Regions from separate parts of the Homo sapiens genome. Here all the other regions are linked to region 5. Evidence: promoter capture Hi-C in 16 types of primary human blood cells and fetal thymus (Javierre and others, 2016). All regions are on one chromosome and are shown on one strand. Each heading gives the region's core, a stretch centred on a gene start or on the middle of the fragment in contact. The rest is flanking DNA. Distances are from core to core; before and after follow the strand shown. Region 1 overlaps STK36 (serine/threonine kinase 36). Region 2 overlaps TTLL4 (tubulin tyrosine ligase like 4). Region 3 overlaps PLCD4 (phospholipase C delta 4). Region 4 overlaps STK36 (serine/threonine kinase 36). Region 5 holds the start of GPBAR1 (G protein-coupled bile acid receptor 1). Region 6 overlaps ZNF142 (zinc finger protein 142). Region 7 holds the start of PLCD4 (phospholipase C delta 4).

The links. The method cuts DNA at HindIII sites, captures the fragments that hold promoters and counts their contacts. A CHiCAGO score of 5 or more calls a contact.
Region 1: a contact is called between a fragment that was not itself captured here and the fragment with the promoter of GPBAR1 in region 5, in 1 of 17 cell types (total CD4 T cells). The highest score is 5.0, in total CD4 T cells.
Region 2: a contact is called between a fragment that was not itself captured here and the fragment with the promoter of GPBAR1 in region 5, in 2 of 17 cell types (fetal thymus and neutrophils). The highest score is 5.3, in fetal thymus.
Region 3: a contact is called between a fragment that was not itself captured here and the fragment with the promoter of GPBAR1 in region 5, in 6 of 17 cell types (total B cells, non-activated CD4 T cells, naive B cells and 3 more). The highest score is 5.5, in total B cells.
Region 4: a contact is called between a fragment that was not itself captured here and the fragment with the promoter of GPBAR1 in region 5, in 3 of 17 cell types (total B cells, naive B cells and naive CD4 T cells). The highest score is 6.4, in total B cells.
Region 6: a contact is called between a fragment that was not itself captured here and the fragment with the promoter of GPBAR1 in region 5, in 4 of 17 cell types (fetal thymus, naive CD4 T cells, naive CD8 T cells and 1 more). The highest score is 6.3, in fetal thymus.
Region 7: the fragment with the promoter of PLCD4 here is called in contact with the fragment with the promoter of GPBAR1 in region 5 in 1 of 17 cell types (neutrophils); the score reaches 6.4 in neutrophils.

Annotation. Positions count from the first base shown.
Region 1 is chr2:218,690,822-218,694,366 of GRCh38, reverse strand. It overlaps STK36 (serine/threonine kinase 36), which reads right to left. Exons shown (of 27, transcript NM_015690.5): 15 at 2,074-2,224; 16 at 1,657-1,784; 17 at 1,023-1,127; 18 at 546-644; 19 at 384-472; 20 at 40-103. Among named protein-coding and RNA genes, the nearest start is that of TTLL4, 18 kb to the left of the region's middle. The HindIII fragment of the contact is 1,414 bases long and covers 1,569-2,982 here.
Region 2 is chr2:218,714,254-218,718,350 of GRCh38, reverse strand. The region is part of intron 1 of TTLL4 (tubulin tyrosine ligase like 4); the gene reads right to left. Among named protein-coding and RNA genes, the nearest start is that of TTLL4, 5.5 kb to the right of the region's middle. The HindIII fragment of the contact is 4,797 bases long and covers 1-3,858 here.
Region 3 is chr2:218,634,805-218,638,506 of GRCh38, reverse strand. It overlaps PLCD4 (phospholipase C delta 4), which reads right to left. Exons shown (of 16, transcript NM_032726.4): 14 at 2,576-2,711; 15 at 2,115-2,264; 16 at 1,332-2,036. The coding sequence ends at 1,930. ZNF142 (zinc finger protein 142) reads left to right here. Exons shown (of 11, transcript NM_001379659.1): 11 at 1-3,702. The coding sequence ends at 168. Among named protein-coding and RNA genes, the nearest start is that of ZNF142, 23 kb to the left of the region's middle. The HindIII fragment of the contact is 965 bases long and covers 1,833-2,797 here.
Region 4 is chr2:218,673,374-218,677,055 of GRCh38, reverse strand. STK36 (serine/threonine kinase 36) reads right to left here. Exons shown (of 27, transcript NM_015690.5): 3 at 3,291-3,431; 4 at 3,100-3,177; 5 at 1,583-1,713; 6 at 778-1,027. Among named protein-coding and RNA genes, the nearest start is that of STK36, 3.1 kb to the right of the region's middle. The HindIII fragment of the contact is 1,348 bases long and covers 1,559-2,906 here.
Region 5 is chr2:218,258,367-218,262,295 of GRCh38, reverse strand. GPBAR1 (G protein-coupled bile acid receptor 1) reads right to left here and starts at 1,281. Exons shown (of 2, transcript NM_170699.3): 1 at 1,080-1,281. RefSeq lists an enhancer at 29-834. The HindIII fragment of the contact is 11,967 bases long and covers 1-3,929 here.
Region 6 is chr2:218,654,022-218,657,872 of GRCh38, reverse strand. ZNF142 (zinc finger protein 142) reads left to right here. Exons shown (of 11, transcript NM_001379659.1): 4 at 1,410-1,723. The coding sequence starts at 1,444. Among named protein-coding and RNA genes, the nearest start is that of ZNF142, 3.7 kb to the left of the region's middle. The HindIII fragment of the contact is 571 bases long and covers 1,921-2,491 here.
Region 7 is chr2:218,606,284-218,610,088 of GRCh38, reverse strand. It overlaps PLCD4 (phospholipase C delta 4), which reads right to left and starts at 2,190. Exons shown (of 16, transcript NM_032726.4): 1 at 2,019-2,190. The HindIII fragment of the contact is 12,670 bases long and covers 1,700-3,805 here.

The DNA.
Region 1 (3,545 bases), core at 1,026-3,525, 430 kb before region 5:
AGGGTGAAAAGGGGAGGAGGGTGAAGGTTAAAAACTTACCACAAGAGAGACGACATGCGAATGGGTAAAGAGAGTAGCAACGTCACTGCCTAGCTTCTCCATTCTGGAATAAAGAGATACATCAAGGGATGCAGCAGTATTAAAGGAGGTTGGTAAGCGGCCTCCCCTCTCCCTTGCATGGTGTTCTTCACCTAGGCTGCATGTCTACCTCCAAGGCACAAAGTTGATGGGAGTCTAGGTCTGTTCTTTGTAGAGAAAGCTTCACGCTCTCTATCCCAATTCCTCCTAAGGATATGCTGTAGGGTACCATTCCCCATACTCTTTGTGAGGGTTAGCTATGTGGCTAGAAGACTTCTGTGGAGACACCCTACTTTATGACTTACCCACAAGGCAGGTTTTGGAGCCGAAAGACAAGAAGGGAGAGGAAGTAGAGTGTCACTTCAGTAGACTCTTCCCAATCTACTACTTTTACCTACAAAGGAAACCTAAGATATCAGAACAACCTCTGGCTGAGACAGTGGGGCTGCCAGGGGAAGCTGGCTTACCTTGCCCTGAATCAACATAAACAGGGATTCCAAGGCCAGGGGCTCCTGCCCCAGAAGACGGCACAGGCCCTCACTGACAAGGCAGCAGGAGTATAGAACCTGAGGGAGAAGGAAGGAGTCTGGCAGTGAGGCAGGGCAGGCCCCGGGCTCCAAGATTGAAGGCTCAGCGGAAACACCGGCCAGCCCCTCAAAAGATCTGGTACCCACACTTGGGAGTGTGAGAGAACCCCCTTCTGCCTCTTGCTATGAGATAGTGAGACAGGGACCCTTCTCGGTTCCGCTGAGGACTGGCTAACAGTGGGGTCCTCTCAGTTGAACAGATTTAAAAGCAGAAAGGAGTCTTCCAAGGGGGTGTCTCAAATGGTCTCTCTCAGTCTCTCTCTCTTTTAGTCCTCCTCTCTTGGTCTGTTTCTCTGCTTCTCTGTCTGCACTGGGAGTTAAAAATAAAGCTGTGATGCCAGGAGTTAAGAGGATTACCTTGAGAAGGTGCAGGCACAGGATGGGATGCTGCAGGCCAGAGATGAGGGATGGCCTGAGCTGGCTGCTGTCTTCAGTTAGCTGATTTGCCAAATGCCAACAGACCTATAGAGACATACCTGAAGGCTCAATCCTATCCACATGATTACAACCCTATTCCTCACATATGTCCAAAATGATCAGGACTCTCAGTCTCTTCCTAGTCACTCTTCCCACATTCACCAGAAACCTCAGACCCCATTCTATTCCCAGTCTTCATCACCAATAGAGAACCAAAAGTCATGGCCTAGTTTGGCCCCAGTGTAGCCAGGTACAGAGGAAAGGATTACCGACCAACAGGGATCAGGAAAGCTGAATTCTCAGCCCTTGAGGAAGCATCACTGGAGGCTTCAGATCAGCTGCCCCACCATCTGGGCAGTTTATCACTGTGCTCTCTCCCTCACCAACTGGCCATGGGCTCTGGGATTCTGGCTATATCATGTTCTACAAATGGCCCAGGGTGGGAGCATCTGTTTCTGGAAGTACTAAAGGAGGGGCTTAAAAGCTTGTTTTTCTGCCTTTCTGAAAAACTGGGGCTAGCCTCCTCAATTCCTCTGGCAGTAGGATGAGAGGAACAACCAATTGTAGCTCGGACCTGCTCCTTGGCATCCCAGCAGTCGGGCAGTCCCACAGGAGCAGTGCATATGGCTGCCAGGGCAGAGGAAATGGCTCCAGGTATATCCTCACTCTGCTCTCGCAGTGGCTGGCTCACTTGCGGGGCTCCTGTGGAGAAAAGCAAAGAGTAACTCCAAAGGCCTGAGGCTCTTGCCCTAGACAATAGCACCAGTACTCACCGACATGGCAGCAGGAGTAGGGAACCTAAGGGAGTGGGAAGAATGCAGGATGAGGTCTGTTTGTTTCCCTCAGATCCCCATTCATTCTCTCAGTTCACAGTTATTTATTGAGCACCTACTAAATGCCAGGTGCGATCTAGGTGATGGCAATAGAAAGAGCGGAGCCTGACCTATGCAACAAGTAAGTCAAGAGAACCTCCCTTCTCCACTCTGGTTACCTTGGGGAGTGTGGACAGGGAGCTGTGGAACTGTCAAGCCATGAAGGAGCCCATCCAAGACAACCTGCTGTGTCGTCAGCAAGCTGGAGTAAAAGGCTTTGGAGATGGCCCGGCTGTTCCCATCCATGGCTTCGCACAGGACAGTAAAGCACTAAAGGAGAGAAGTGCAGAGGTAGCATCAGGGCATCAGAAGACTGGGCTTAGTGTAAAAAACAAGAAAACCCTGAGGATCTGAGGAAAGAGGACAAAAACCAAAGCAAACACATGTCTAATTTTAAGCATTCTTCACACCAAAAATGCATTAGAACTGCTTTCATTCATGCTTCAAGGACAATAATTTTAGGTGTCAATCCTTCTATTCTCTGATCAGATGCTCCCTAGATGATGTTTCTCAAAGTATTTTTTATAGACTGTGAGTATAAGAATTCCTAGGGGTCAGGTGCAATGGCTCATGCCTGTAATCCCAACAGGGGATTGGGAGGCCGAGGCAGGTGGATCACTTGAGCTCAGAAGTTTGAGACCAACCTGGGCAACATGGCAAAACCCTGTCTCTACTAAAAATCCAAAAAAAATAGCCAGGTCTGGTGGTGTGCACCCATAGTCTCAGCTACTCAAGAGGCCGAGATGGGAGGATTGCTTGAGCCCGGAGGGTGGAGGTTGCAGTGAGTCAAGATCATGCCACTGCACTCTAGCCTGGGTGACAGAGAGACCCTGTCTCCAAAAAAAAAAGGAAAGAAAAGAAGAAATCCTAGGGATTCCTGGGTCCCTCCCAACTCAGTCCTACTGATTCAGAATTTCAGGAGGTAATTATTCCAAACTCCCCATTCTATTCATAGCATATGACATGAGAAGTGCTGGCCAATAGCATGAGTCACTGCTGGCCAAAATTTAGGTTAGACAGTAAAAGCTTTCTGACTTGAAAGGGTGAGGGATATTAAAACAGGATCTCAGACCAGGAAAGTCTGAGTGAATGCTAGCTAAAGGCAAGTAGTAGTCCAGATCTATGTTCCCAATTACCAGTTTTAACAATGACCAGGCAATTATTTACTTCCTTACAAATATATGTTCCTCTCTATCTCCTCTGAGGTTAGTCAGAACACAGCTATTTTCTCATTCAATCCTCCATTCTCCTGTCCCTTACCTCCAGGATCTAGGGAAAAGAACTGCATAGTCTACTAATCCTCAGGACAAACGAGGTTAGACAATACTAGATGATCTGCAAGTCTTTTCAAGAAGAAGTCGTTCTATTTGTGGTCCCCTGAAATATGCCAAACTGCTTAAAGCCTCTGGGCCTTTATATATGTTACTCTTTCTGTATAGAATTTCTACTTTGTGCCTCATTTACGTGGCAAACTGCGATGTATTCTTCAAATGCTAGCAGAGATGATTTCCTTCTTCGAGATTTCTTCTATGATACTCCAAATAGTGTTAAGTGCATCTTCTGCAGTGGTTAACTGCATCTTCTTCATAAA
Region 2 (4,097 bases), core at 211-2,710, 460 kb before region 5:
AACCAACAAGTCTCCAGGGACCAGGCCCAGACCAACTTGGACAAGGTATCTATTTCTAGAGAAAGCAATTATTCATTACCCACTAATTAAATCACTCTCCTACAAGAGAGTGTGGCTCTTGGGAAATGCAGTTTCCCTTTCCTCCTTCAACTAGGTGTTTCCCTCGGTCACCAGGGAAACTCAGGACATCAGAAATGGTTCAGTCTACAGTCCACAAGATCTCTGATGAGATTACCTCAACTGCTCAACAGTTATGTTAGAAGATAGAACTGACAGGCTCACGCCTGTAATCCCAACACTTTGGGAGGCTGAGGCAGGTGGATCACGAGGTCAGGAGATCAAAACCATCCTGGTTAACACGGTGAAACCCCATCTCTACTAAAAATACAAAAGGCGTGGTGGCAGACGCCTGCAGTCCCAGCTACTTGGGAGGCTGAGGCAGGAGAATGGCCTGAACCCGGGAGGCGGAGCTTGCAGTGAGCCGAGACTGTGCCACTGCACTCCAGCCTGGGTGACAGAGCAAGACTCTGTCTCCAAAAAAAAAAAAAAGAAGAAGATAGAACTGACTTGCCTGGAACCAAATAGAGAGGAGTGTAGGAATCACATTAATTTTCTCTTATGAGATAAATCCCAAGCTCTCTCTCCCTAAGGAAAGGTGGAGGAGCAATATATCTCTCCTAAAGCCCTACTAAGAGAGGAAGGTCAAGAATACAGCCTAGTGAGAAGGGTGGGTCCGTATAAGTCAAGATTAGTGAAATTACAGGTAGCTCTTGTAGAGCACAGTTTAGCAATGCCAAACAAGTAAGCAAACCTGAGGAAAAGATACAGGTTATGGCAGCTGGAGCTGAGGGAGGTAAACCTATAAATTACTGAAAAGTGAAACCAGTGGAAGGGTTTATGTAATGGGGTGACTCACTCTCCTGAAGCCTTGCCCTTTATCAGCTTCGGGAAGGAGGCTCTTTCCTCCTTCTCAGGTGGGCTCTGGAGCAGCAGTTCTCAAAGCATGGTCCACAGACCCTGAGGGGACCCTAAGATCCTTTTGGCGGTCCTGCTACATAGAAAATATTTTCATAACAAAACTAAGAGGTAGCTGGGTGGGGTGACTTGTGCCTATAATCCCAACACTTTGGGAGGCTAAGGTGGGCAAATTACTTGGGCTCCAGAGTTCAAGACCAGCATGGGCAACATGGTGAAACCTTGTCTCTACAAAAAAAAAATACAAAAAATCAGCTAGATGTGGTGGTGCATGCCTGTGGTAGGAGGATCACCTGAGCCTGGGGGGTGGAGACTGCAGTAAGCCATGATCATGCCACTGCACTCCAGCCTGTCTTCGGACAAAAAAAAAGAAAAAGAAAAAAACCTAAGATGTTATTTGCCTTTTTACTGTGCTGACCTTTCCACTGATAGAGCAAAAGCAATAATGAGTAAAACTGCTGGTGACTTAGCATGAATCAAGACGATGGCACGAAATTAGATTCTTACCCACTATACTTTTCCACCACACAGTGAAAGAATACAACCAGGTTTACTTGATGGCACAGTGTAAATTTTTTTTTTCTTTTTGAGACAGAGTCTCGCTCTGTCGCCAGGCTGGAGTGCAGTGGCACGATCTCGGCTCACTGCAACCTCCGCCTCCTGGGTTCACGCCATTCTCCTGCCTCAACCTCCTGAGTAGCTGGGACTACAGGCACTTACTACCACGCCCGGCTAATTTTTTGTATTTTTAGTAGAGACAGGGTTTCACCGTGTTAGCCAGGATGGCCTCGATCTCCTGACCTTGTGATCTGCCCGCCTCGGCCTCCCAAAGTGCTGGGATTACAGGCGTGAGCCACTGCGCCCAGCCCGACACAGTGTAAATTATATTAAATCTCATTAAAAAGTGTCCTTGAGTATGCTTTTTAATATTCTGTGTGATAAAATGTGAAGTACATATAAAACATTTATGCTGCATGCAGAACATGTTGATTATCTCTAAAGCACTTGTGTGATTGTCTGAATTGCAGGATTTTTCTGTGGAACGCCATGTTTACTTGAAAGAATGAATGACACATAAGTAATAGTTATTCCGACGTCATTATTTGGCAAAGGTTCTGGAAAATGAAACAAAGTAAGCCTGTCACTTCAAGGAAACCAACTGACTGTACTTGTTGCCAATGATAAAATTTGAGCTTCCCAAAGAAAATTAGAATTTTGGCAAAATGGTATCTGCCACCACGAGTTTGAGTGCTTCCCAATATTTAACTACTTCTCTGAAGAGATTGTGGTGATATGATTTTTTTGACACTATACAATAAACTGTGACACGTGGGAGATCTGCATAACTCAGTGAACCAGTATTTTCCTAACAGTCATGCCTCACATAATGTTTCAGTCAACAGATAGTCCCCATAGAAGACAATGTCCCATAAGATTATCATTCCAGGCCGGGTGTGGTGGCTCACGCCTGTAATCCCAGCACTTTGGGAGGCCGAGGCAGGTGGATCACGAGGTCAGGAGATCGAAACCATCCTGGCTAACATGGTGAAACCCCATCTCTACTAAAAATACAAAAAAATTAGCCAGGCGTGGTGGCGGGTGCCTGTAGTCCCAGCTACTTGGGAGGCTGAGGCAGGAGAATGGCGTGAACGAGGAAGGTGGAGGTTGCAGTGAGCCGAGATTGCGCCACTGCACTCCAGCCTAGCGACAGATTGAGACTCCCTCTAAAGAAAGAAAAAAAAAAAGATTATCATTCCTTATTTTTACAGTAGCCTTTTCTATGCTTCAATGTTTAGATGCATTGTGTTGCAACTGTGTTGCAACTGCAGAGAATACTCATTATGGTGACATGCTGTTCAGGTTTGCAGCCTAGGAGCAATAGGCTATACCATGACTGTGTAGCATGACTGTATCACATGTTACAGAATCATGTATGGATCTAAGACCCAGTCAAAGTGAGACAGATCCATGGATTTTAACATAACAAAGTATGAAATGTTCACTGATATCATTTCAGATTCCACACTGTAACTAGCCTTTACAAAATCATGCTTTGTTTTGCATAGTACCAATACCCACAACTATCTGAGAAGACTACTGAAATACTTCATCCTTTTCCAGCCATCTGTGTGCAGCTGGATTTTCATTATTCAATCAAAACAACTATCACAATAGACTGGAGAAACATATGAAAATCCAGCTGTCTTCTATTAAGTCAGACACTAAAGAGATCTAAAAAACAATGCCACTCTTCTCACTAATATTTTTAAAACAGTAGCATTTTTTAAATGAAAACATTAAGTGAACTTATGCTAACCATAACTTAGGTTAGAAATGCTGTTTGTGTTAACTAACTTACGTTAGCATACAGTTAATGTAAATTGTAACATACGTAAAAATGTTATTCATGTTAGTAATGGGCTTATTACTTCTAAATGAATATTTCAGTTCCTAATATAATATTAAAATATAGGCTAAGCGCAGTGGCTCAAGCCTGTAAGCACTTTGGGAGGTTGAGGCGGGAGGACTGTTTGAGTCCAGGAGTTCGAGACCAGCCTGGGCAATATAGTGAGACCCCATCTCTAAACAAAATTTAAAAAGAAAAAATTGAATATTGAAATATATATATATATATCCCTTTTTTTTTAACTGAAGATTCCAAAGAGCTTTTTCAAGTACATAAAGAAATCCTGAGCCCAAAAACTCTGAGCTCTGAGCACTGCCGGTCTAGAGAAGCACTATGCTTCTCTAGCATATCTATGAGGGCTCCGAAGGACAAGGTCCTTTGTATTGTAAGGCCTAAGAGAAACGAGCACTCTCAGTATTTGTTCCCAACTCTGCCAGAAGAAAAGGTAAGAAGTAAAAGGCATTAAAGGAAAAGCTTTTCTCTGTAATTTACTGACTTTTGGTGATTTACCAAAGCACCTGATCACAGGCTAAAATTCAGACACTATGATCAGACAATTCCAAGGTCATAGAAGGAATCTAGTGAGAAAGCTAAATCCAACTCCAAAACATGAGTATCAGATGGATTCTGAAGTTAAGGCTTCATCTAGATACAGATTTTCAGCAAATGACAACTTCCTATTCACACATTCATTTCTGCATTTGGTTATGTATTC
Region 3 (3,702 bases), core at 1,066-3,565, 380 kb before region 5:
AAGTTCCAGGTGGTCAAGCACGTACGCAGGCACCACCCTGACCAAGCCGACCCAAACCAGGGTGTGGGCAAAGACCCCACCACCCCCACAGTGCACCTGCATGATGTGCAGCTGGAGGATCCCAGCCCTCCTGCTCCTGCCGCTCCCCACACTGGACCTGAGGGCTGAAAGCCTGCCCCACCTCCTGTATAGGAAGAGGGTATGGTCTGAGATGTGCAGACTGGGACCAGCGCTAGCCTGAGGAGCTCAGAGCCTAAGGAAAGACTGGCTTTTGGGGTACAAGGGTGACTAGAACCTTCCTGGGACTCTGGCTATAGTACTTTGAAATTATCACCCATATAAAAGAGGGACATGGACTATAACGTTGATTTCTTATTGCTGTACATTGCGTTTTTAACCTGCAAGTTCTCAGTTTCTTCACCATCACTCCATCAAAGTCCCTGGCTATAAGATCTGGATTTTACCCACTCCATCTTCTCTTTCCTTCTTACTGTGTCAATTCCTATTTTCTTTCAGAATCTTCTAAAAACAGTTGTATCTAACCGCATGTGCTGTTGTGCCTAATGCTCTATAAAGCATGTTAAACAGAAAGTGGTTACTACATTATAGATTCATCCAAATCCCTGTCTTAACATTTCCAGGCTGTCATCTTGATCAACTCTGTCCCCTCTCAGACCTCTGCCTCCCTTTTGTCCCTTCCATCTTCACTCAGTATTGATACTGAAACAGGCCTAGGTCTGCCTTCTCCCTGTCCTTGAGCCATCTTGACCCTTGACCTGCTCCCTACTTCCAAGCTCCTTTGTCTACCTGTATCTATAGAGGGAGGATTGCTACCCACTAAGCCTCCTCCTAGAAGCAACTTTAGCTCATCATCAATCCTCAGACTGGCTCAGCAGCTACACTAAGGTGTTAAAGCACAAGGATACTATGGAAAGGCAGATGACTAGAGAGGAAAATCTCCAATTCAGAATTCTATAACTGCTTCACAGTATAATTCTGTAGTGCCTTACTATATAATTGATCATCTAAACTGAGACACACTGGGAAAACTTAAAGAGGGTACTATTAATAATTATGCTGGGACAACAGACATAAACCAGGATGGTTCCAGCCAGACTCTTCAGGAAGGCTGGGACCACATAACCTTTTGTCTGCTTTTGCCCTGATTCTTAAAAGCCATACTCTGTGTCCTTCCTATGTAGCACATGCAAGAGGTCTCCTGGGAACCTCTTTCTCTACCTTTTCCTTGTCTCACCTGACTACCCAGATGTCCCCACAACCCTTGTACCTCCCCTTCTTGCCCAACAATGACAGACCATATTGAAGCCAAATTGGAGAGAGATGTATTTATACCAGTGGGGCTAAGGAGGAAGCAGTCCAGTGGGGGACTTTGAGTGCTGTGCAGTGTTCTCTTAAGAGTCGTAGTACAGTCCTGGGGTCAAGTCTCTTTCCCTAATCTTTGCTGGGGAAGCCTTGAGCCTTGATTTATCCTTCCCTTGGCTTTGGGCTTTGAGGAAGTTGGGGATGGAGGGGATGATGCTTCTTTAGGTTTCTCTATTCCAAGCCCCTCTGAATTTCTAGTTGCAACCTGCCTTCACACAGAGTTGATGGGAAAGATTAGTTGTAGATGTCGGTATGGGATTGAGCCTACAGCAAGAGGAAGAAGGGAACTCCAGTATAGAGTACACAAAGGAAAAGGGCAGGAAAGATACCAAAGGCTTATGAAAACAAAGGAAGGGAAGAAAAGAGAAAAAAGGTGGAAAATCAGGTCCCAGATTGCTTGTTAGGAAGAATGAGGTAATTTTGTGCCTAGGAATGCACAATCCAAAGCTTGATTTTCACCACCTCCATTTGTTCTCTCGAGCATCCTTCCAGATGTTTCTCCCCGTCTAAAGCCAGCACACCAACCCTTCCCGTGAAATGCCCACCTCAGGACTCATCCCCCTCCAGGCCTTCCTGGATGCAGATATACACAAAGATGGAAGCTGGGCGGAGGCTGATGCCATCTTTGGACAGCAGGTGAATGTGGCGGTAACCTGGAAGGGGCAGGAGGACAGCATTAGGAAGGCAGCCAGAGCTGGGGTATTGGCCAGGGGCCAAAGGGGCTGGCTCACCTTGTTGCATGCAGGTCCAAGGCAGGGTGTACTGACCAATAAAGTCATTTCGGGATTTCCAGTCATAATCCATTACCACAAAACGCAGCATGGCAAGTTCAGGCACCAGCACCCGGAAACATAGTGTCTGCCCCCAGTATGGATTAAAACCTGAGTTGGTGGACAGAAAGAAATAAGAAGACATTATGACAGTTTTCTTGACTGGGTTGCTTTTCTTGTGTTCTCATTTAATCTAGATGGCAATCAGCATTTTACAGGTAAGGAAAAAGGCTCAGAGTAAGCAAGTAATTTGCCCAGGTCACTGGAGCTTTTAAGTGAAGAGCCAGGATTCTTTGTACTGTTCCACACTGCCTCCCATGTGGGGACATGCAATAACAGATGCTATACTTAATGGAAGACAGACTAGAAGGAAAACTAATCATGCTCCTACCCCCACCTCCCCAGCACTGCCAGTTTCTCACCATTGTTCTCCACATAGTTGGTCTCCTGCCGTGCTGTGTCTAGACGAACGCCAAAGATCTGCACTTTCACCAGTGGATCCACAATGGACCCCTCTTTGGTCTTGTCCACTTTGGGGAGTTGCTGACCGCTGATCACCTGTAGTCAGGGCTCTGGAATCTCACAAGTTCCTGCTCAGCCCAGCCCCACCCGACCCTACTCCCAACCCCAGGGGAGAAGAAGCTTTTTGGTTTGTAAAACATCCTCCATGGGTAATATATTTTCTTCTAGTATTCTATCTGCAATTTAAAATGCACCCAAAGGCCGGGCACGGTGGCTCACACCTGTAATCCCAACACTTCAGGAGGCCGAGGTGGGCAGATCACTTGAAACCAGGAGACCAGCCTGGCCAACATGGTGAAACCCTATCTCTACTAAAAATACAAAAATTAGCCAGGCATGGTGGCGGGCGCCTGTAGTCCCAGCTACTCGGAAGGCTCAGATGGGAGAATCACTTGAACCCAGGAGGCGGAGGTTGCAGTGAGCCAAGATCATGCCACTGCACTCCAGCCTGCAGCAGAGCAAGACTCTGTCTCAGAATAAACAAATAAATTAAATGGATCCAGGTAGAAATTCAACAGTTTGAAAGTAGGCATGCTAATGACAGCAGCCACTTTTTTTTTTTCAAAGAGACACGATCATACTCTTGACCAAGCTGGAATGCAGTGGGGCAGTCATAGCTCACTGCAACCTCCATCTCCTGGGCTAAAGTGACCCTCCAGCCTTAGCCTCCTGAGTAGCCAGGACTATCTATAGTCATGTGCCACCATGCCAGGCTAATTTTTAAATTTTTTGTAGAGACGGGAGTCTCTACAAAATTTTTAAATTTTTTGTTGAGACCAGTTTCAGACTGGTCTCAAACTCCTGGGCTCAAGCAGTCCTCCTGCCTTGGCCTCCAAAGCGCTGGGATTACAGGTGTAAGCTATCGCTCCCAGCCAGCCTCTTTTATAGCACTTCCTGTGTGCCAGGAATTGTAAGAACTTTATATTAACTGTTATACTCCTTATAACCCTGTGAGGCAGGTGGTAGTGTTACCCCTATTTTGCAGGTGAGCAGACTGAGGTATGGAGAGGTTAAGGAACTTGCCCAA
Region 4 (3,682 bases), core at 983-3,482, 410 kb before region 5:
AGGCTGAGGCAGAAGAATTGCTTGAACCTGGGAAGCAGAGGTTGCGGTCAGCCGAGATCGCGCCATTGCAGTCCAGCCTGGACAACAAAAGCAAAACTCTGTCTCAGGCTGGGAGCAGTGGCTCATGCCTGTAATCCCAGCACTTTGGGAGGCTGAGGCAGGCGAGTCACGAGGTCAGGAGATCAAGACCATGCTGGCTAACACGGTGAAACCCCGTCTCTACTAAAAAATACAAAAAAATTAGCCGGGTGTCGTGGTGGGCACCTGTAATCCCAGCTACTCAGGAGGCTGAGGCAGGAGAATGGTGTGAACCTGCAAGGCAGAGCTTGCAGTGAGCCAAGATCACGCCACTACACTCCAGCCTGGGTGACAGAGCGAGACTCTGTCTCAAAAAAAAAAAAAGAAAAAAAAACTGTGTCTCAAAAAAAAAAAAAAAGCGTGTAGCACCTTTCCTTTCTCTATCTTCCTCCTGGTCCACCACGTAAGACATGCCTGTTTCCCCTTTGCTTTCCGTCATGATTGTAAGTTTCCTGAGGCTTCCCCAGCCATCCTTCCTGTACAGGCTATGGAGCTGTGAGCCAATTAAACCTCTTTTCTTTATAAAATACCCAGTCTCAGGTGGTTCTGTATAGCAATGCGAGAACAGAATAACACAGCCATTAATTCAGTAACTGCAAAGTCCCGCCTCAGCTCTGGAAAAGGATTTGGAAAAAGGAACAGAGATAGAGGGAGACAGATTTCTAATGTAAAAGTCATCTCCCTTTCAATATTCATTACCTTAAAGCAGGGACTGATGGTTGAGGGCCAGCGCACAGGGTCCTTGAGAATGAGGCTGACCAGCTGAAAGATGCTTGTAGCATAGAAGGGAGGGGTGCCTACTGCCAGTTCATATAGTATGCAGCCAACAGACCAGAGGTCCGCTGTGTGGTCGTATGGTCGCTCCTCCACCAGCTCTGGAGACATATAGAGTGGTGTGCCTTTGATGGATGTCAGCACCATTGTATTGGTGCTCATAGCCCGGGCAAATCTGCAGAAGATAATGGGATGGAAATGGAAAGGGAAAAGATATTCTAAACCTGGTCACTACTACCTAACATAGAGATATCCCAAACCGGAGCAGAGGGAGCACCTTTGATTAGGTTCCAGAAGACCCAGCAGCAGTCCCAGCCTCTAGCTCCGGTTCTAAAATGAGGCCCAAATAAGTCAAGAGTATGGTCTAAGATTCCCTGTGGGGCCAGGCTCAGTGGCTCATGCCTGTAATCCCAGCACTTTGGGAGGCCGAGGTGGGCAGATCACCTGAGGTCAGGAGTTCGAGACCAGCCTGACCAACATGGAGAAACCCCATCTCTACTAAAAATATAAAATTAGCCAGGCATGGTGGCACATGCCTGTAATCCCAGCTACTCTGGAGGCTGAGGCAGTAGAATTGCTTGAATCCGGGAGGCAGAGGTTGTGGTGAGTGGAGATCGCACCATTGCACTTCAGCCTGGGTAACAAGAGTGAAACTCCATCTCAAAAAAAAAAAAAAAAAAAAAGATTCCGTGTGGAACTGGAAGCTTAGATGGATGCTCAGAATCTTTACCCAAAGTCACAGAGCTTGATGCCACCACCCTTGGCGAGGAGGATGTTCTGAGGCTTCATATCTCGGTGTAGGATGCGGTGGGAATGCAGATAGTACAGGGCTGACACCAACTGGGCAGCAATGGCCTGAACCTAGAAATTAAAGAGGTGGAAGAAAGAAAAAAAAGGTTAGAAACAGCAGCTGGCTGACAAGCCCAAAAATTTCTCTTAATATTACTGCTAATCTTTTCTTCCTTCCCTTTCTTGCAGAGCTTCACACTATTCTTTCTTAGTTATTGTTCCCCTTGTTTAATCACTCTTTCATTTGCTCATTCATTCATTCAAGAAAAATTTATTGAATCTCATTTACTATCTGCTTGACCATGGGCAAACTAAGGTGACAATCTATATAATAACACCATCTACATGGAGGATTATTGTGAGGACTGAGTTAAAGCATGCAAAATAATACTCAGAATGGTGCCTGGCACATAGTAAATATTCAATACACATTACCTGTTATTAAATAAGACAAAATGCCTTTTTTCAAGAAAAGTAGTCAGACAAACAAACAAGACAGATAAAACAAATATGGTGGTCGGGCGTGGTGGCTCACACCTGTAATACCAGCACTTTGGGAGGCTGAGGCGGGCAGATCACCTGAGGCCAGCAGTTCGAGACCAGCCTGGCCAGCATGGTGAAACCCCATCTCTACTAAAAGTACAAAATTAGCTAGGCATGGTGGCGCATGCTATAATCCTGGTTACTGGGGAGGCTGAGGCACGAGAATTGCTTGAACCTGGAAGGCGGAGTTTGCTGTGAGCCAAGATTGTGCCACTGCACTCCAGCCTGGGCAACAAAGCGAGACTCTGTCTCAAAAAATAAAATTCAATTAAAAATAAAATAATTTCAAAAATATGATTACTTACAAATAGTGGTGAGTGCTCAGAAGGAAAGAGAATGCTGCAATAATGAATCCCAGGGGGGGCCTACTTGCTTGGGTACAGACAAACGCCTAGAATAAATGTGGCTGGAGGATATGTGCAACAAAATCCCACTGCTAACCACTACGTCCTGGTGCCAAATCCTGACTCCCCACAACCTTTATTCTTACTGCCCTCTTTCTGGTACCATTACACTGGCCCTTCTTCCCTAAAGGTATCTAATAACAATAATGTTAATAATAGCTAACTATTCAAACACATTACATGACTTAACACTCTTCATCATAGACTTATCAGGCAAACATGATTATTATCTCCATTTTACAAATTAGGAAACTAAGCACAAAGAAATTAAAGTAACTTGTCCAATGAGACCCAGCTAGGAAGGAGCAGAGCCAAGCTTCCTGCTCAGATATTTTGACTCCAACGTTTACATAATTTACTCCCACACTACACTGCCTCTATATACCTAGACTCTTATATTCTTCTCAGAAGTCTTTGAAATGGAGACTCTCAGTGTCCTTAGCTTGCTCTACCAGTTCTCTAACCTGGAGAGAGGTCGGAGGTGGGGAGAAGTTGAAGGCAGAAAGCATACCTGGTCTTCAGGAAGTTTTCCGTCATCTTCTAGGATCTGAAAGAGCTCTCCCTCAGCATAGTCTGTCACCACCACCACCTACAGAGAGAAGGCAGTGGCACTGATGGCTCCAGATTCATGCATTCTGAGGTTGGGAAATTCCTGGAACCCTTGTGCTTGGGGAGACAGGGCCCAAAACTGTCAAAGCACACCTCTTTATCAGTTTCAAAGCTGTCAAGCATATGCACAATGTTGGGATGCCGCAGACCCCGCATTATTTCAATCTCTCGTTGCAAATTCCTCAGCTCCTTCTCTGAGCGCCCCAATTTTGGGATGAACTTCAGGGCCACGACCTGTCAGTGGTAAGGTGAAAAGTTAACGCCTAATCACACTACTGAAAAGATCTAGAATTTCAGCCTTAATCTCAGAGCTCCAGAAGTCAGATTTTAGAGTGTTTGAGTAACTCTTATTATTTCTGTTAGTCTCCCGCTTCCATTTTCTCCATGGTACCCTGGCCTTATCCAGGCTTTCCCCATTCCTCATCCCAGGAGGAAACAGCATCTGCAAAACATTTCCCCTTCTGGAAGAAGTGTTCTGATTTGAC
Region 5 (3,929 bases), core at 32-2,531:
CTCCACCGGGGAGGCCTCTAAATGAGAGAATGGACCAGGGCTGGCTGGTGTGTAGTGGTCTTCCAGCCAGCCATTAGGTGACAGGCTCCAGCGGGCCAGGTCTCGGGCACCCTGCACCCTTCCCCCCATCTGTCCTTGTAGCCATCACAGCTCAGTGAGCAGCCTCCGGGTAGGACTTCCAGCCCATAAACTTGACTCGTCTTTGCTCCACACTAGCAACAGGGTCCTTCCTGGGAGCTGGAGGGAGGAGAGAAGCAGCTGGAGGGCACGTGTGGCAGTGAACGTGGAGATGCCAGCAGCAAGGAGAGGGACTCCCCCACACCCCCAGGCCTGAGGCTGAGCCCAGAGGAGAGGGAAGAGGAGTCTGGGCAGAGTCTGGCTTCTCTGTGGCTCTCATCTGTCCCTGTCCTTCCCGTCATTCCCTGGTCTCAGTCCTCCAGTGTCATGGCTCTGCTGCCACATCCTGGGGACAGGGGGAGGGGTCCTGGGTCCTGTGGGAACTCCTGCTTCTGTCAACAGGGGAGCAGCTGCTGTTGCTAGGATCCAAGTCAATAAGGAAAGGATTCATACCTCTCCCCTCCTCCAGGACAGGGGATCAGGGCCCCATGGCTGCCCTGAGCTGAGAGGAAGGAAGATGCTCCCCTTCCTTCCCAGGTTCCCCCAGCACCCTGAGCCTGGGCCTCCAAGGCCTTATGCCCCCTTTCCCCTCCCCTAAGCATGTTTTCTCTTTCTCAATCTCTTCCAGTGCCCTCCACCCAGGATGTCTTTTCCTCTCTAGAGGCCTTGCAGTTTCTGTTCCCTTTCCCAGGGCATCATCAACTCTCTTAAGTCCCGTGAGACTCAGGGTCCATTACCCCAAACCTGGCCTGAGCTGGAGCTCCCAGCCCTAATCGGAATGATTCCCCCCAACCCACCTCCACTAGAACAGCGACAAAGGCAGGGAGCAGCCCCCAGGGGTGATTTCCCAGCAGGGTGCAGGCTGTACCACCTGCACACCCCCGAGGGTCTGGTGGCTTGGGCTGGGTGTAGTAGCCTCTCCAGGATCTGGGGTTTGGGGGTTTGGGGGAGTAGCTACTCACATGGCTGTTGGGAGCAGGTATTGCCTGCCCAGCCTGGGCCTTCCTGAGTGTCAGGGAGTTGCTGCAGCCAGCCCTGCAGCGGTTTGGACCATGTCTGGTGTCCTGGCTGAAGAGCACAAGTGGACCAAGTGCATGGTGTCTCCACCCAGTGGGGACAGCGGGGCCAGGCTCTCCTACCCAGGCTCTGCCCGTCTGGGTTCTCAGAGGGATAGAGAAATGAGGCTGGCAGGACTCAGCCCTGGCCCCGCCTCTGGGAGGGTGGGACCTGACATATTCCAAACTGCAGCAACTGGGAGGCCTGCCTCCCCCTCCCACCCAGTTCCCCTCTCCCCCTGCCACCTAGGTGGCAGTTTCCCTACTCCAGCTCGGAGTAATCTGAGAAATGCATTCCAGTTAATGAATAATAATGATTGACTTACCCCTCCCGACTTCCCGCCTCAGCTGATGCATTTACATTTAAGCCCCTGGACTGGCCAGCCAGCTGACAGCACACCAGGCTCCCTCCACACTTCCGTGTGTGATGGTGGCAGTGGCAGGTGTTTGGGGCCTGAGGATCTTCACTCCCCCATCCCATCACCTGATGGGCCTTTCAGTTTCTAAGGCCAGACTTGCCTTCCTGAATCTGGGGTCATTCCACACTTTTCTCAACTGCTTTCTGAGTCAAGTTCTGAACTATGAGGGACAAATGGCTCTGGGGATGTGACCATGGGTAAGGTACTACTGGGCCTCGGTTTTTGCCTGTGTTAAAATGGGAACAAGAAAAACCACCTCTAATTAAGGTCGTGGTGGGGAATATCACAGGATAACACATATGGCGGCATATACCCCAGTGCATGGCCCTTGATGGGTGGGGGTTTGCCCCAACAAATGGCTCCCTCTCTTTCCTCCCCCATGATGAAGAGGCATGAGCTGGCGCTGGAATCAGAGCTGTCTGGATCCTTTTTTAAAAAAGCCAGTGAACTTGGGCAAATGACTAAAGTTCCCTTGCCTTAGTTTCCTCATCTGTCAAATGGGGCCCATAGTTGTACTCACCTATCGTGAGACTAAATGAAGTCCCGTGTGATGAGGACTCAGATCAACACTTGGCCCTTCAGCACTCCGCGACAGGCAGCGATCGCTGGGAACATTATTAGGATTTCTGCCTTTCTCTGCACCTGGCCCCTCTAAGACAGATCTGCTGAGAGGGGCGCATGGGGAGCTTGGGAAAAGCAAGAGGGGAGTGACACTCTTGCTGCACAGGGAAGCTGAGGAAACCAGATACATTGAGAGGGAAGGGCAAGTTCAAGGCTGGGAAGCCAGAAGTGGTGCTTTGATTTCCACCTTGTATCAAGTGCGGCTTTGGAGTGAGGGGGAGGAGAGAAGCCCAGCCACACTCCCTTAAGGCCTGAAATGGGAGGGAACAGGCGGAAATTGCAGCAGGAAAGCTGGGACTGGGGGTGAGACATTAGGAAACACTTGCTGGCTGAAGAGCGCAAGTAAATGGAGCAAAGGGACTCTGGTGCTCTCCGGGAGAGCTGGGCCTGAAGGGCTGGAAGCCCGTGGAGTGTGGCTGTGCCAGCTCTGCACAGCCAGTCAGGGATCCTGGAGATCAGGGACTTCTGTTGGGACAAAAAGTGGGAAGAGGAAAGCATCCAGCCTCAAGTCCATCCTCGAGGGAGCTGGTGGGTCGGAAGGACGCAGGGTTCCAGGGCCGGTCCTCAGAACCACGGGATCTGGTCGGGCAGAAGTCACAGGCTCTGGGAGAGTTCAGCCTGGGGCCTGGACAGAAGTGGGTGTGGGACCCTTCTGATATGTGACTTCCAGGAATAAACAGACCTCCTGTTCCCAGCCCCAGCCTGCTCCCTGTGGGATCCAGGATGTCTGTTTCTTCTCTGCTGCTCTGTCTAAACACTGTGTGTGGGATGTGTGTGAAGGGGGACAGATTAGGTAGTGGCAGCCAGGGAGCCTGGGCTGTCTCCTGCTCAGCCTCATTTCTCCCTTCCTAGATCATCTAGTTCCTGTCTGTTCCATCAAGCCCTGGGGCTGACTCACCCCCTAGCTTCTCCCTTCAGCCACGGAGGGCTCTGGTGCAAGCCGTCTTCAGACGCTCCATCCAGCTGACTGTGCCCGGACCCCATTCTCCTTTCCTCAGGCAGAGCCTGAATGGGGGTGACCAATTCAGACTCTGGCATGGAATCCTCCTGTGCCTCCTTTGTCCGCTTCCATTCTCTTAGCTATCTGAATTTCTCTCTGTTGACCCACAATGTCTGGGACTGGGTGAGTGTCATGCTGGCTGCGGGTACCAGCTCTGGACCAATGGAGGCAGCAGGGACGGGGTTTGCTGGACCCTGGTTGGCCTCCCTGAGCCGCTGTTCAACACTTCACACTCAATGCCTGTAATCCTAGCACTTTAAGAGGCTGAGGCCTGGGCAACGTGGTGAGACTCCGTCTCTACAAAAAATAAAGATTAGCTGGGCACAGTGGTACATGTTGTGTGGTTCCAGCTACTCAGGAGGCTGAGGTGTGAAGATTGCTCGAGTCCAGGAGGTTGAGGCTGCCGTGAGCCTTCATGGCGCCACTGCACTGCAGCCTGGGCGACAGAGTGAGACCCTGCCTCAAAATAAAGATGATTAAAAAAAATCAGAGCCAGGCGCGGTGGTTCATCCTTGTAATCCCAGCACTTTGGGAGGCCGAGGTGGACAGATCACCTGAAGTCAGGAGTTTGAGAGCAGTCTGGCCAACATGGTGAAACCCCATCTCTACTAAAAATACAAAAATTAGCCAGGTGTGGTGGTGAGCACCTGTAATCCTAGCTGCTCAGGAGGCTGAGGCAGGAGAATCGCTTGAATCCAGGAGGGGGAGGTTGCAGTG
Region 6 (3,851 bases), core at 957-3,456, 390 kb before region 5:
AACAAATTACTAAAAAAGCTATACATCTAGGGAGAGAGACTGACAGGTAAACAACAGTGCAGTGTGACCTCGTTTCTGATAGGGCTGTGTACAGAGTGCCCTTAGGACGCCAGAAGAGAGAAGATAAGAGTTTCGGGAAGCCAGGCCCGGCGCGGTGCCTCACGCCTGTAATCCCAGCACTTTGGGAGGCCGAGGCAGGTGGATCACCTGAGTTCTGGAGTTCAAGACCAGCCCAACCAACATGGAGAAACCCCATCTCTACTAAAAATACAAAATAGTAGCCAGGCGTGGTGGTACATGCCTGTAATCCCAGCTACTCAGGAGGCTGAGGCAGGAGAATCGCTTGAACCCAGGAGGCAGAGGTTGTAGTGAGCTGAGATCGTGCCACTGCCCTCCAGCCTAGGTGACAGACTAAGACTGTCTCAAAAAAAAGAATGTCAGGAGGCCTTCATGGTGGAAGTGACATTTGTGCAGCTTCTTCAAGGATAGTTAATTGGTTAGCCAGATAAGAGAGAGAGATTGAGAAGGGGAAAAGGCATATCAAGCCAAGAGACGCAAAAGGCTGTGAGGGTATGAAAGCAAAAGAGAATGTGGTGGGTCTGGAGAATGGCACATCATCTGGTTCAGAGATCTGCTGAGGGGAGAAGTGGGAGATGAGTCAGGGGAGGTCAGCAGGAGCCAGATGATGAAGGAAGGGCCTTCCTTATAATCCATGCTGAGGAATAGTGAGATTATCAAAGGTTAAGAGGGAAAGGGACCAGGCAAGGTGGCTCACGCCTATAATCCCAGCACTTTGGGAGGCCAAAACGGGCAGATCACCCAAGGTCAGAAGTTCGAGACCAGCCTGGCCAACATGGTGAAACTCCATCGCTGTTAAAAATACAAAATTTACCTGGGCGTGTGTGGCACATGCCTGTAGTCCAGCTATTGGGGAGGCTGAGACAGGAGAATTGCTTGAACCCAGGAGGCGGAGGTTGCAGTGAGCCAAGATCACGCCACTGCACTCCAGCCTGGGTGACAGAGCGAGACTCTGTCTCAAAAAAAAAAAAAAAAAAGGACTTCTGAGATATTTGGGCCCCACCTAATTTTGTTGCAGATAAGAAATCTGAGACCCAAATTGCTTAATGACTTGGCTAAGGGCACTTAGCTAGCAGAAGACAACCTGCAGTCATTAATATATTGGCCAATACTTGTTGGCTGTCTCCTAATATTCTGTTATCATTTTTATACTTTTTGTTCTGAACATTATCATAAAAGAAAGCCTCTATTTAGTCTCATATGGTATATATGGCATATTGCCATGCAAGAAAATGCCTAAGTGGGTGGGCACTGGGCTGTGTACCCACGCCAGCCAGGAAGAAAGTAAGAACTCTAACCTTACTTTGTTTTTCTTCTGGTTGGCTTGTCAGCATTTAAGAAGCCAAAACACACAAGTCGGTGGTGATGACAGACCCCCTTTTGGACTCACAGCCAGCCAGTAGCACCGGGGAGATGGATGGACTGTGCCCTGAGCTATTGCTGATCCCCCCGCCTCTCTCTAACCGTGGAATCCTGGGGCCTGTCCAGAGCCCCTGTCCTTCCCGGGACCCTGCACCTATACCTACTGAGCCAGGCTGCCTGCTGGTAGAGGCCACAGCAACTGAAGAGGGACCAGGGAACATGGAGATCATTGTGGAGACAGTAGCTGGAACCCTGACCCCAGGTGCTCCTGGAGAGACCCCAGGTACAAACACAGTTGCAAGCAGGCCAGTGGGACAAGCAGCTCTGAGGTTTTGTCTGGGTTATTTTTGATTCTGTATAAATATGATGAGAACACAAGGTAGCATCCTATTTTTATACTTGGAGATGTTGTCATTTGGTTTGCAGTTGGTGCATGTTGATTGAAGGCTGGCGAAGTGGTGCACAGCCTTCTACCAAGCTTTTGGCAGTCTGTCCTGCAAGGGCTTCATGTGTGCTAGGCAGTAATCCAGAAAGTAAGACCTTTCTGACACCTCCGCCCAATCCTGGCTTGTCCCTACTCTTACAGTCCTTGGAGATTCTTTCCTCCATATTGACCCTCCTACCCAGGAACTGCAGCCAGGGATTAAGCAAAAACCCTGTCTCTACCACCCTGGGCTTGGCAGGGCTTTCCAGAAGTGATCTGGTATTTCCCTGCCCTAGTTTTTTGTGTATAACATACTTTACTCATCCGAGGCATGTTGTTAAGAATAAGAGTTGAGGCCTGGTACAGTGGCATGCACCTGTAGTCTCAGCTACTTGGGAGGCTGAGGCAGGAAGATTGCTTGAGCCCAGGAGTTAGAGGCTGCCGTATGTTATGATCATACCTGTGAATAGCCACTGCACTCCAGCCTGGGCAATATAGTGAGACCCCCATCTCTTTAAAAAAACAAAACAAAACAAAAAAGTAGGAGTTGAGCATTTGTATTTATCTCAGATGAAAGATTCTCCCTTTATTCATCCCATTATCCTCACCTCTTATTTTTAGGAAGCTTCCCTGTTTTTTAATTACCGTCCTCCAGCCATAGTTGTCACCACTTCAGTTGGCACTGTAGTATAGTGACAAAGAATATTGGGAAAGATTAGCTAATTTGACCATATAATATTTCCAAACTTCCATATGGTGAAAGAAATTTAAAAAAATAAAAAGCCTAGGAAAAACATTCGCAATATGTAAGAAAGAGTTAATATCTTTAAAATTCAAAGAGCCACAGTAAGAAAAAGAAACCATCTTTTTTGTTGTTTGCTTTGCTTTTTTTGTTTTCTTTTGGTTTTGGGGGTTTTGTTGAGACAGGGTCTTGCTCTGCCACCCAGGCTAGAGTGCAGTGGCACAGTTACGGCTCACTGCAGCCTTGACCTCCTGGGCTTAAGCAATCCTCTTGCCTCAGCTTCCCATGTAGCTGGGGCCACAGGTGTATACCACCCACACTCAGCTAGTTTTTAAATTTTCTTTGGTAGAAACGAGGTCTCACCTTGTTGCCCAGGCTAGTCTTGAACTCCTGGGCTCAAGCAATCTTCCCACCTCGGCCTCCTAAAGTTTTGGGATTACAGACATGAGCCATCGCACCCAGCAGAAACCTTTTTTTTTTTTTAAATGGGAAAAAGAAATCTATGTGCAATGCTCTAAAGAAGAAATAAAAGTAGTAACCATATGGAAGGATGCTTAATCTCACTAGCAAAGAAATAAATTCCAGTTAAAAATAAGAGATGTGGCTGGGCATGGTGGCTCATGCCTATAATCCTAGCACTTTGGGAGGCCGAGACAGGCAGTTGCCTGAGCTCAGGAGTTTGAGACCAGCCTGGGCAAGATGGTGAAACCCCACCTCTGCTAAGATACAAAAAATCAGCTGGCATGGTGGTGGGCACCTGTAATCCCAGCTACTCAGGAGGCTGAGGCAGGAGAATTGCTTGAACCCGAGAGGCGGAGGTTGCAGTGAGCCAAGATCGCACCACTGAACCCTAGCCTGGACAACAAAGCGAGATTCTGTCTCAAAAAAAAAAAAGGAGATGCATTTTGGCATAAATTAAACATTTTTAATAATACCTAGTGTTGATGAGGCTATAGGAAACACTATGTTACAGCTTATGGAGATACAAATTAGTATAATCTTTTGAAGGTCAATTTAGCTACATAGCAAATTTTACAATTTGCATACTCTGACCACTAATTCCACTGTAGGAATGCACAAAGACACCGGAATTACAGTGGCCAGAGCAAGGATGAGGATATATAGGGGTGCTTTATTTGTAATGGTTGGAAACAGCCCAAATGTCCATCAGTAACGGCACAATTTATTTTTTAAAATTATTTTTAGAATGGGCAACATAGGGAGACCCCATCTCTACAAAAAAAT
Region 7 (3,805 bases), core at 941-3,440, 350 kb before region 5:
CCTAGTTTTAAACTCCTGGCCTCAAGCAATCCTCCTGCCTGGGCTTCCCAAAGTGCTGGGATTACAGGCGTGAGCCATCATGCCCAGCCCCATCCCCACCTCTCTCTCTCTCTTAATCCTCTGTCTTCCTGTTTGCTCACCTAGGTCAGTCTCTCCTCTTCTCTTCCTTCTCCTCATCCCTTCTCCCCATCACCTCTTCCAGTTGGTTCCCTCTTTTGACTCCACTAATTCGCAATGGCTCTGAGTCTCATCTCCTTTGAGAATTTTGAGACTGTGGTCCAGAAGGGAGGACACTTGGGTTCAGAACTCAGTAGCATGCGTGTCCCTCTGCTCAGCCTCACTTTTCTCTGTATCCTAGGAGATTGACCAAACAAACTGCCCAGACAATGTGAGTTAGAACCTAGGTATTCTAGGTCTTGCTGTTTCCTCTGGTGTCTAATGGTAGAATGGGAAGGATGCCCACAGCTGATGCAGGTGCAATGAGAAGAGAAGGAACAAAGGGTTTGGGAGTGAGGGCACTGGGAAAAACACAGAGGATGACATCTGATAATAAGAAAGGTTGGTCTTAAATATTAACTCATAGACACATATATGGAGATCTTCAATGATATGGTAATTACCTCTCTAATACAGATACGAAAATAGGGACACAAAATGAGATGGGAAGTAGCCCAGAGCTGCAGAGCGCAATTTGGTCCTCAATTTCTAAGAGACTTCATGTCACCTAGAGATGGACTTTGGCAGAGTTACCAATGGCACCAAGGAGATTACAGTGGGATTCAGGGTGTCTCAGGTCTCTCTGAGGGGCAAGAAAGAAGAGAATCATTTTGTCTACTCCCTTGCTTCTGAGAAGGATTATGCCTAACCTGGTTCATATAGAGGACAAATTGGCTCTGGTCACAGGTCACAGAATGTTGGAGCTTGAAGGTTCTTTTTTTTTTTTTTTTTGAGACAGAGTCTCGCTGTCGCCCAGGCTGGAGTGCAGTGGTGCGATCTTGGCTCACTGCAGGCTCCGCCCCCCGGGGTTCACGCTATTCTCCTGCCTCAGCCTCCCGAGTAGCTGGGACTACAGGCACCCGCCACCCACCTCGCCCGGCTAATTTTTTGTATTTTCAGTAGAGACGGGGTTTCACCATGTTAGCCAGGATGGTCTCAATCTCCTGACCTCGTGATCCACCCGCCTCGGCCTCCCAAAGTGCTGGGATTACAGGTGTGAGCCACCGCGCCCGGCCAGTTCTTTTATAACACATCTAATCCAGACATTCCCAGCTACATCAATAGCCTCTGGAATGTCTTGAAATTGAGATCCTTAGCCCTACCCAAAAATCTACCAGATCAGAGTTACCCAGGGTGGGGCTCAATAATATATTTATTTTTAACAAGTACACTTGGTACACAGGCAAGTCTGGGAAACCCTAAACTCTCTCGTATCACAGATCTGGAAGTTGTGGCTCCAGGTCCCGTAGCTAGTTAATGGCACAGGCAGAACTAGAAGTAGGTTTTCTTACCAACGTAGCACTCTGGTGCACTAAGAAACTGCTCTGGCCCATGGAATAGGCAAAGAACAAGTTCTTTAGAGAACTTTCTAAGGGACTTTCATAACTCTCTCTATTACCAGGGATCTCTGATTCCCCATGGTTCTTGGCCAACCCCTATTTTGCAACCCTCAACAAACTGTTAATGAATCTATGCTAAAGCTTAGCTACTCCAATTTTTTCTTCCCTTATTGGGGGTGGAGTTCACCTCAGGAGTGGCTAGGGTTGGCACTTCTGGCCCTGCATAAGCTAAGAGGTACCTCATATAAAGGGCGACTGACACAGCCAGGAGGAAAGCTGTAAGGATAAAGGAGGATAAGCTAGAGAGAACCAGGAGGTGGGAGCCCTGTAGAGCTGTTGGGATGAGGAAAGGAGTCTAGGGTACAATTTAATCAGGGTGGATAAGCATCTAGAGGGCAGAGGTAGGGACTCAGGGAAGACAGAGCTTAGAGCAGAGGGTAGTCAGAGCTTCCAGATCCTTACCGTGGGCAGGAGAGCAGAATAGCAGTCCTGTGTTTCCTGTGTCTGTGAGCTGTGCCTCCCGAGCTCTGCGATGCTGTGGGATCAGGAAGCCCAGCCTGGCTCCTTTTCTCTTTTGCTCCCCTTGCACTGGCTTGTTTCCTCCCCTCTTCTACAGCAGCTGGCTGCTGTGACTGGCAAGTTATAGCCGGAGGGAAGCAGTAAGAAGGGGAGAGGTGTGAGCTCTCTCCAGTCCAGCCCATCCAACTCTTAAAGGCCCAGGACACTGGTCAATGTGAGGGAGTAGTGGGGGTGGGGTGGGGAGAGAAGGATTAAGGGCAGCACATCTCCAGGGAGGAGCCTGGCTGCCCTTCATCTTGATGCCAGCCCTCATTGACCCCAATCCCGCAGTAGCTCTCAAAGTGAAGGGAGTGTCCTCAGTTGCAGTGCTCTGTGAATCACTGCTTTTCATTCTGGTTCCTGCATGTAATACGGCTGTTTTTGCCCTTATTTAATCTGGCTCCTTTCCATAGTGTCTGTTTCCACTGGCCTGCTCCTGTATCTCTGAATCCTGCCTGCAGGGCACTCACTGTAGCTCCGTCCCACAGGAAAAGAAAGAAATAAGATGGGAAAAGAGGAAGACGAGGAGAAGGGGAGGACAGGAATGATGATAGAATGTAGAGGGACAGATAGGTTAGAATCTATGTATATTTTAGGCACTCATTAAATATTGAAAGAATGCATAGATGAACGTGTGAAACAGCTCATTTTTTTTTAAACATCCATTCGTTCCTCCTACAAGCATCTGTTCAGCACCTCTGGGTTATAAGTCATAGCCCTCAGAATGGAGGTAGCACCTTCAGGACATACATGCATGTTTATAAAGATGTGTGCAGAGATGAAGCATAGGCTCAGAGGGGAACTGTGTGAAATGGTGTAATTTTAAGTGTGCTGACGTCTGGCTGCCTATCATGGTTTCCACAAGCATCCCTCAACTGCCTAATATTTTACCATTAGTGATTATAGCTACATTTTTTAGTCCCATTAAAATAAAATCCTCCTAAGTGATTACTATAAAAGTCAGGATAGTGGTTACTGTTGGGAGGGGGAGGAATTGTGGTGAGATGGGACACAGAGGGGGCTTCTGGCATAGCTAGCTAAACTCTATTTCTAGTTCTAAGTGCTAACAAGGGTCTTCACTTAATAATTTATTAAGCTATACATTCTCTTGATATATTTTCTATATGTGTTTTTAAATTTATTTTTTTAGGTCTCATTTAAAATATCATATATCTGTGTTAACTTTTGAAGGCTTAATGATTTTAAATATACATATATGTATATGTATATGTGTGTGTGTGTATATATATATATATATATATTTTTTTTTTTTTTTTTTTTTTTTTTTGAGATAAGAGTCTCGCTGTTGCCCAGGCTGGAGTGCAATGGCGTGATCTTGGCTTACTGCAACCTCTACCTCCCGGGTTCAAGCAATTCTCCTGTCTCAGCCTCCTGAGTAGCTGGGATTACAGGTGCATGCCACCACCCCCAGCTACTTTTTTTTGTATTTTAGTAGAGACGGGGTTTCACCGTGTTGCCCAGGCTGGTCTTGAGCTCCTGAGCTCAGGCAATCCACCTGCCTTGGCCTCCCAAAGTGCTAGGATTACAGGCGTAAGCCACTGCACCCAGCCGATTATAAATAATTTTTTAAAAATTCAATCCTAAGGTCAAAGTAGATTTTAAATAATTTATACCTAGGTTGGGTTGTCTATATTCTTTACTGAGAGCAGGTTTTGATAGAAGAGTAGTAG